Linked DNA regions of Homo sapiens: region 1 is linked to region 2. The links are contacts of gene promoters, found by promoter capture Hi-C in blood cells and fetal thymus (Javierre and others, 2016). All regions are on one chromosome and are shown on one strand. The core of a region is centred on a gene start or on the middle of the fragment in contact, and the rest is flanking DNA. Distances in the headings are between cores, read along the strand shown.

Region 1 (4,598 bases), core at 319-2,818, 590 kb after region 2:
TCAAGTTGCCCTCAGTTTACCTGCTCTCTGAGGATCTCACTCTGTTTCCACTATGTCAGGCGGTTAGTAAGCCACTTCCCCTTTAAAACTCTGGACAAGCCGAATGAAAATCTCTTTCTTGGTTCTTCTTAACACAGCTGACCAGGCTAGCATTTTTAAATGTGTTAACATAAGACAGAACAAAAAGGACCTAATTACAGAAAATATAAACAGCTTTTAAGAAAATAATGTATGTTCCCAAAATAGCAGTCTGTGATCCCACAGTAATCTCTGTCTTATCACCGAGGCTGGCATAACTTTTTAGCAGCTGGCCTGGCTGTCTTTCTGTTCAGTTCCATCTTCTCTACCCACAGCTATGTTCAGAAGCTTTTGACACAAAGCCCCAAAATCCAGATTTAAGTTTCTCAATGCCCTTTGGGACTTCCTCCTCATTTCTGATCTATAGGACATGTCTGCACCGCTAATTGGCATTGTTAGTTTATTGCCACAGGATCATCTCACCCTATGAGAGACTTTGCCCTCTCATCCAGGGAGTAGCCCCTGCTTGCCAGCCACTAATAACCCTGAACACACTCTGGAGGGGCAGACAGCTTGGGAAGGGGTTACTGCTCCCAGAGTTTAGATGAGGAGGCTGATGCCAGGGCAGGGAGACAATCAGGACTCTTCCTGGTGACTTCTCTGCTATGGTTTGGATTTGTGTTCCCTCCAAATCTCATGTTGAAATTTGATCCCCAGTGTTGGAGGTGGGGCCTAATGGGAGGTGTTTGGGTCCTGAGGAGAGATTGTTCATGAATAGATTAATGCCTCCCTCAGGCATGAGTGAGTTGTCAGAGAGCGGGTTGTTGAAAAGAGCTGGCACCTCCTCCTTCTCTCTCTAGCTTCCTCTCTGCCCATGTGCCTCACACAGGTGTGCTCCCTTTCTGCCTTCCCAGGAGTGGAAGCAGCCTGAGGCCCTCATCCAATGCAGATGTCTGTGCCGTGCGTCTTGTCCAGCCTGCAGAACCATGAGCCAAATAAACCTCTTTTCACTACCCAATCTCAGGTATTGTTATAGCAACACAAACAGACAAGGGCGGAAAATGAGGAGACTGATGCTGTGGCAAGGAGATACGGTGATCTCTCTATACCTAAAATCAGAAGACTTTATCTGAGAAGAACAAGTACACTTAATGAATGATTGCTGGTGCCTGTTGAAATTATGCAATCATTCGGGACTTAGAAAAAGAGCTTTCTTCACAGACTCTAAGGGCTATCGAGGGGAAGCAAGAGGGCTCTTTGGGCTCTACCTTAAATTTAGAATGTTGATACTATACTCAAATGAGTTTAATGATGTAGTCATTGTATACTTTTATGTTCAAAGTGTTAATGTGTTAAATATAAACATTTAAAATACACCACAGGCCGGGCCAGGTGGCTCATGCCTGTAATCCCAGCATTTTGGGAAGCCAAGGCAGGAGAATCACTTGATCCCAGGAGTTTGAATGGAAATGGCCCTAGGCCTTGCCTACTTTGGGACAGGTCAGGCTCCAAGATACTTCTAAAAGTCTTGGCTTTCTTCTTATTGAAGGTGATCTATAAAATGTACCATCACACCCTAGTGATTTGACATATGTTATTCCTAAATGTTTGTGGGGCATCCTAAATCCTGAGCAATACAGCCTCCATAAGAAAAAATTACTCTCTCCTCCCTCCTCCCCTACCCATCATTCCAAAGTTCTTACATTACAGAACTGCTTTATGCAGATAGGCTTACATATCCCAGAGGAGAGCTCATATACCATTTATATTATATCACATGCACCTGTGCCAGGCCACAGGGACTCTCTGTGAAGTTACCCATGTCCCTGTCTACCGCCTCCTCCGATCAAGAAGACCTCATGGCTTCCTCATTATCATCTTTGCACCCCCAACTAGGGGAATCTTTTCCAGTTTGTTTTGGTTTGGTTTGGTTTTTATTTTGTTTGGGGTTATGGGAAAATGAGAATTCCCCTCTTCAAATTCTTATTTTCCTTTTTGTTCCCCTAATAATGCAGACTTATTGAAACACGGAACTAGGAGGAGATATCCTATTCACCTTTTTCTCTTCCCTTTCCTGAAAACACAAGCGTAGTGTTGTCTAACTAATAGAATGTGTGGTTGGAGGGCGAGGAGTCAGGAGATCAAAGAGGAGAAAAATATAGTGGGCAAAAAGGGTGAATATGTCAGCAATATTATCTGCTACTTGTACATAGTACTTGTACAAGCACTATGCTAGACAGTGGGCTTGCATTACTTCATTTACTCCTTACAATGCCCTATGATGTAGACATTCTATTTTAAGGATAAGGAAACTGAGGCACACAGAGATTGACTAAGTAGTCCAATGTTACTGGCCAGTAGGAAGCAAAGGTATTACTAAATCCAAGTCAGTCAGATGCTTTAGCCAGGCTCTTAACCCCTTAGCCACTGCTTGGGACTTCTGGCCTCATGCTTATTAAGAGTAAAAGGAAAGCAGTGAAAATTGCAAAAAATAAAAATAAAAATAAGCAATGGCACTGGAATACTCATGGTGACCTGGGCATCCAGGAGGGGCACAGGTTGGAATTAGTGTGTGTGGGAGACAATGCCTCTGCCTGAACCTGATGTTGAACTAGAATGGAGAGCCAGGAAGGAGTTGCCAGTCCGGTGGCCAAAAATATACTTTGCAATATATCTAATGTATATTCTGACGTGAAATGTATTCTAGTCTGTTCTCACTTGAGGTACTTTGATGGTACTTTCTAGAAGCAAATGAAGCTTGGGTTGGGTTTAAACTCACTGTGGCAAAGCCAGCATATTGTGAAATATCAAGGCTGTCTGATTTCCTGCATGTTGTGAAATCAGGGCTAAATAAACAACACGAGAGGTCACAGTTATTCTTTAATGATGTGTTCCATGGGGAGAAGCTGTATAAACGAGAAAGCCAGGTTTACTCAGCATCTCTTTCTGAGGGGAGAAAGGGGGGATGGAGAGTGAAGAGGGGACTGTCTGAGGGTAGAGGCAGACTTTGTCAGCCTGGAGTGGTGGGGAGAAGATATTTGGCCAGAGATAGGGGTGCAGTAGTGGAATGGGGAATGGGGGGCTTAGATATTAGACTATGGAAAGGGTAAAAATAAGCCCCGCCCCTCACCACTAACCTGGTCCCCGCATGACTTCTAACCACTGCACTCACCACATATCCTGAGAGTCTGAAATGATTACCTAGAAGCCTCCTATACTCATCAAACCTCAGAGAAGACTGCTATTCAGTTAACTTTACAACAGTTGTAAGCATTTCCAGTTCTTTCATAAATAAATACTGTTTCTTTTTAGTGTCAATGAAAAACGTTTCAGAATATTAATGAGTAGTGTTTGCTTCAATTGCACTGCAAGCTATCTTAAGCAGAACTGTTTCCTCCATTTTGAATCAAACCAGAGGAGATAGAGATGCAAATCACAGTTCTTTAAAAAGTTAAACAGAATTATCATATGACCTAGCAACTCTCTTCCTAGGTATATAACCCCCAAAATTGAAGACAGGTACTCAAACAAATACTTGTAAACCAGTGTTCATAGCAGCATTGTTCACAATAGTCAAAAGGTGGAACCGACCCAAATGTCATCAGACAATAATAGATACACAAAATATGTTATAGACATACAGTGGAAAATACTATTCAGCTATAAAAAGGAAAGAAATAGGCTGGGTGTGGTGGCTCATACCTGTAATACCAGTATTTTGGGAGACTGAGGCAGGAGGATTGCTTGGGACCAGGAGTTCAAGACTAGCCTGGGCATCATAGCAAGACCCTATCTCTATAGAAAAATTAAAAATTAGATGGGCACGGTGGCATGCACCTATAGTCCCAGCTTACTTATGAGGTGAGATAGGAGGATTCCTCGAGTCCAGGAGTTCAAGGCTGCAGTGAGCTGATTGTGCCACTGTACTCCAGCCTGTGACAGAGCTAGATCCTGTCTCTTAAAGAAAGAATGAAGTCCTGATACATGCTACTACAGTGCAGACTTCTTTTCTTTTCTTTCTCATCTGCCATTTCTGATGTGAGTAATGGTCCCTCTTAGAATATGATCTTTTTAAAAATCAGTGATGGGAAAAGAATTCTAGAAAGTTCTGGCAGTTTTTTACCCAGGGAGAAATAAAAGGGATAACCAGTCATAGGTACATTTTCTGTTACATAAGAAGCAAGATTGTACAAGAATGCTTCCAGGTGCTCACCTGGGATCAGCTGGGACCACAGGGGTTTCTTCATTCTCTCAGCGGAGTCAGTACACACACTCAGCTTCCCCTGGGGATGGCAGCTTCCTCCTGGTCCTCTTTATTTCCCCATGGGAAACTGTACAACTCACAGGCCCCAAGGTCCCTCACTGATTCCTAATCAACTCCTGTAAAGAGTCAGCTCCCTAAGTCCAGACTGCCTGGCACCATGCAATCTGTATATTCCCTTATGAACAAGGCCACTTTCCCATACCTGCCCACAGGAAGAAAAACCCATTGTGGCAGGGGAAGGGGACAGGCTTTCTCCTCTGGAACCGAATCATACAGCCCAGCAGCCTTCACCTGCTTCACTAATGGTAAGCTTGGG
Region 2 (4,462 bases), core at 1,093-3,592:
GCTCACTGCAAACTCCGCCTCCCGGGTCCACGCCATTCTCCTGCCTCAACCTCTCGAGTAGCTGGGACTACAGGCGCCTGCCACCACGCCCAGCTAACTTTTTGTATTTTTAGTAGAGACGGGGTTTCACCGTGTTAGCCAGGATTGTATCGATCTCCTGACCTCGTGATCTGCCCGCCTCGGCCTCCGAAAGTTCTGGGATTACAGGCGTGAGCCACCGCGCCCGGCCTTGAAATTTTTTACTCATATTATATGACATTTTCTGAATAAAGGCAATCCTAAGAGAATCTTTCTTGTTTTACCAATGATTGACGAAGGTCCAGCAATCATTGGACAAAATGCTTTCGTACAGAAAAAAATTATTTCAGTCCAAATACAGATAGATTTTAACTATCTATTATTTCAGTAATAATAGATAAAAAATTATTTCAGTCCAAATACAGATAGATTTTAACAAGAAATAATTCTTGCCTGTTGTATTAATTGTATACTTACGGCAATCTAAAATTTACTCAGATCGTGAACTGTTTTTCCTATTTCTCTATTGGAACAGTGATGCAAAGACAAAACAAATATTCTCTTTGTTCTAGCAAACTATGCTAATCCAATGTATACAATACGTTTTCCACACTTGACATATAATAGTTTGAGATTTTATAATATATATATTTTTAATGTAGCTATATGTGGAGAACCAGAAGATTGATCTTGAGGGGTGGGAAATGAAAACAATACCAATGAACATCGACTTAAATTATTATTTTACTACCAGTTTTCATAGTAGATTCTACTACAAACTTTTTACAGAGCAGTGTCCCAGACACTAACTTTCCATGCATTTGACATTTTACCTTCTATTCCACTTCCATTAACTATTTTTTAATAAACTGTTTGTATTTGAAAAAAAAAATCTCCATATAATTCTATCCCTTCTTAATTTTTTTCTCTTCCATTAAGAGAGTATGTTTTATTAAGCACTAGGCTTTAGGTTTATCATACCAATGACAAAAATAGCTTGAATCTATAACCTGGATTATTTTAAAACATTTTGTAATTGATGTCCTCAATATTTGAAAGCACAAAGTGAACCAAAAAAAATGACTTTAAGCATGTCTGAGGTGTTCTGAAGCATATCCCAAGCTAACATTAATGCAAGTTGACTGCTTCAAGTTTATTCTCCCAACCAATTGCATATCTGGACACACCACATTGAACACACCTGCTTTTTCAAGTGACACTGTCCACAAATACTTTAAAAGTATCACAGCCTACAAAGCCTCCTGTTTCCTGAAACAGTTACTCATAAACTATAACTTCTCATGCCTTCTACTCTTGAACGGAAAGGTAATACAAACGAAAAAGAAACCTGGCCAATGGGCAAGGTGTTATTTCTGGATGGTTCTAAAAGCAACAATTTTGATAAAAATATTTGGAGAATGCTAATTTTTTATTTTGTTTAAGACAGATTAAAGGGCCGGGAGCGGTGGCTCACGCCTGTAATCCCAACACTTTGGGAGGCCGAGGCGGGCGGATCACCTGAGGTTGCGAGTTCGAGACCAGCCTAACCAACATGGAGAAACCCTGTCTCTACTAAAAATACAAACTTAGCCGGGCGTGGTGGTGATGCCTGTAATCCCAGCTACTTGGGAGGCTGAGGCAGGATAATCGCTTGAACCCAGGAGGCAGAGGTTGCGGTGAGCCGAGACCATGCCATTGCACTCCAGCCTGGGCAACAAGAGTGAAACTCCGTCTCAAAAAAAAAAAAAAAAAAAAAAAAAAAAAAAAAAAAAAAAGATTGAAATCTTTTATAGATCAAAGAACGAGATAATAGAAGCTTTAAAACGTACTATACTTACCGTTTCTTCAATCCGTTCGCATAGAAAGACCCAAAGGTTTTCAACTTGGAAACAAATTTGAGGTGAAATGCATATGGTTCGCAGGTCCAAAAGATGCTGCCTAGCAAACTAGCAATTCCAGCGCTGTTGTGATTTCTTCTGCGGACGCAGTCACGAGTCCAGGGCGAAGCAGGCAGGGAGGCAGGTGGGCCTCGGTCCGCCGCAAGCTCACACTTAGGAGGACCACGGGCCGCATGCTGTCGTCGTCAAGGCAACGACCTCACTCTGTCCCCAACCATAGGCACAAAGTCTTGGGAGACAGATACGGCCCAGGTCAGAATGCGTTCACGGCAGGCACCAACACCTGTGAAGGCCAAGGGCTAGAGAGCAATTAGCTGGGTGAGAGGCACCACCTCCCAGCTCGTAAGGCGCCCAGTACCTGGAGCCTGGGAACCTGCACCGCTCCAACTACCCCTGGGCGAAGGCGTTGGCCGCGGAGCTGCAAGGGGGGGCGGTTTCTCACCCGCCCCGAGAGCGCCAGGCCTCCCTTCTTCTGATTGGCCGAGCCGAGTCGTCACGAGCCATGATTGGCTCAGGGCCAACCACCCCGCCCCTTCACCTAGGGCTCGGCCCAGGTTCTGCTCCCTGACACGCAGAGGCCCTGCGTCCCCACACGCCTTGGTTCTCGTCAGGAGGCGCCTTTCTGCCTTCCCCAGCGGGAGGAGGCGATTGTGATGCCCACGCGAAGGGTAAAGGTGGCGGTTATGTAGGACTGCGAAGACTATGCAAAATGCGATACGGTTTCCCTCATAGCATCGCCGCTGGGGCAGGGGCGGGCGCCGGGCGCCCTGAGTCGCGTAGGCGCGGCCTGACCGGGATTCCATGCTTCCTTTCTGTTCTGGGCGGTGGGGCCAGTGTGAGCCAGGTAGGAGATAACGGTGACAGTTTAGGAGGTGATGATTAGTAGGCGAGGCAAGGTGGAAGAAGGTAGGTGATGACAGACCTGACGTTAGGAGGGACCTTGGGAAGGCCAGTCTGGCCATTGAAAGTGAGGGAAAACACTGAGATGGAGGAAGGGGAAGAGAGGGCATGAGTGGAATGGGAAAGCGCTGGGATGGCTGGGGATCTGGAGGACACGCACAACACCCGCGTATGGCAGCCAAATGGGGTGGAGTTAGGGCTTGCGATAAAACTTGCCTTAAATGCAAAAATGCAGCTCAATCCACGACTGAGCAAGACTGGTAGGTCAGAATCATGCACAGGCTTAAATCACACAGGAACAGAGCTTACCCCATTTTCAAAGAATCTGAGGCAGCGAGGAGGCCATAAGGCCAGTAAAATAACACTTTCAATCATGATAACTAAATGTTCATGATCATTTTGGTCTCGAAACTACTTTGATTTAGGGAATAGAGTGTCCTGGATAGACAAATGTCTACCATATACCCTAGTCAATATTAAGGTATTAATCATTAATGTTAAGGTATTGATTCCTTCTTGTACATTAAGAAATAGACATTCTTTTTATAGTCTTTTGTGAGTTTGGTTAGTTTGCATTAATCTCCCAGTGGTTAATTACCTTGGTCAGACTGCTTAAAATCTAGTTCCTGAACCTGTAATATTGAGAACCAGACCTGAGGCCTAGTTATGGAAAGAATAGAATTATTTGGTCAATTCAAGATGTGACTCTTAGTGTAGCAATTAGCTCTGTCCTTAGCTGTGTCCAAGTTGCGAGAAGCCCTGTCCCATTTGGTACCTCTATAGGCTATAAGAGAATCTGATGAACTTCTTTTATATGGGGGTAGATTCAGTTTTGTTGGGCCTGAAGCTTAAGAACAAGAGCGCAAAACTATTTTACTTTTGCAACTTTATAATCATATTCAACCGTATAACATTTTAAGGCCCCTTCATGCAAGAGGCCTAGAAGCTTCAATAATCTATTTATATCTCACAGGGAACCAAAGGATAAAGACTGAAAATACTGGATTTGGCGAACAAGTGATGCTTTAGGAAACAATTTCAGCCAGATGCGGTGGCTCATGCCTGTAATCCTAGCACTTTGGGAGGCCAAGGCGGGCAGATCACCTGAGGTCAGGAGTTTGATACCAGCCAGGCCAACATGGTGAAACCCTGTCTCTACTAACAATACAAAAATTAGCTGGGCATGGTTGTGAACGCCTGTACTCCCAGCTACTTGGGAGACTGAAAAAAAGAAAACAAACAAACCAAAAAAAAACAATTTCAGTAAGAACTGAGTTTGAAAGCCAGTTGTAGAGGACAGAGGTTATTAAAGACTTACACATTCTGGCCATCTACAGGATTGTTAATAGAGAAGGTATTATGTAGAAACAGGATTGTGTTACTATTTTTTCTTTCTTTTCTTCTGAGGCGGAGTCTCACTCTGTTGCCCAGGCTGGAGTGCAGCAGCACGATCTTGGCTCACTGCAACCTCTGCTTCCTGGGTTCAAGCGATTCTCCTGTCTCAGCCTCCCAGGTAGCTGGGATTACAGGACCCCACCACCACGCCTGGCTAATTTTTTTCTTTTTTTAGTAGAGGCAGGTTTTCGCCATGTTGGTCAGACTGGTCTCGAACTCCTGACCTCAGTTGATCCGCCCGCCTCAGCCTC

Evidence for each region. The method cuts DNA at HindIII sites, captures the fragments that hold promoters and counts their contacts. A CHiCAGO score of 5 or more calls a contact.
Region 1: a contact is called between a fragment that was not itself captured here and the fragment with the promoter of CDKL2 in region 2, in 1 of 17 cell types (activated CD4 T cells). The highest score is 5.6, in activated CD4 T cells.

Annotation. Positions count from the first base shown.
Region 1 is chr4:76,216,647-76,221,244 of GRCh38, forward strand. It overlaps a transcript of SCARB2 not described here and a transcript of FAM47E not described here. Among named protein-coding and RNA genes, the nearest start is that of SCARB2, 5.1 kb to the left of the region's middle. The HindIII fragment of the contact is 2,409 bases long and covers 365-2,773 here.
Region 2 is chr4:75,628,186-75,632,647 of GRCh38, forward strand. CDKL2 (cyclin dependent kinase like 2) reads right to left here and starts at 2,343. Exons shown (of 14, transcript NM_001330724.2): 1 at 1,857-2,343. The HindIII fragment of the contact is 1,829 bases long and covers 1,833-3,661 here.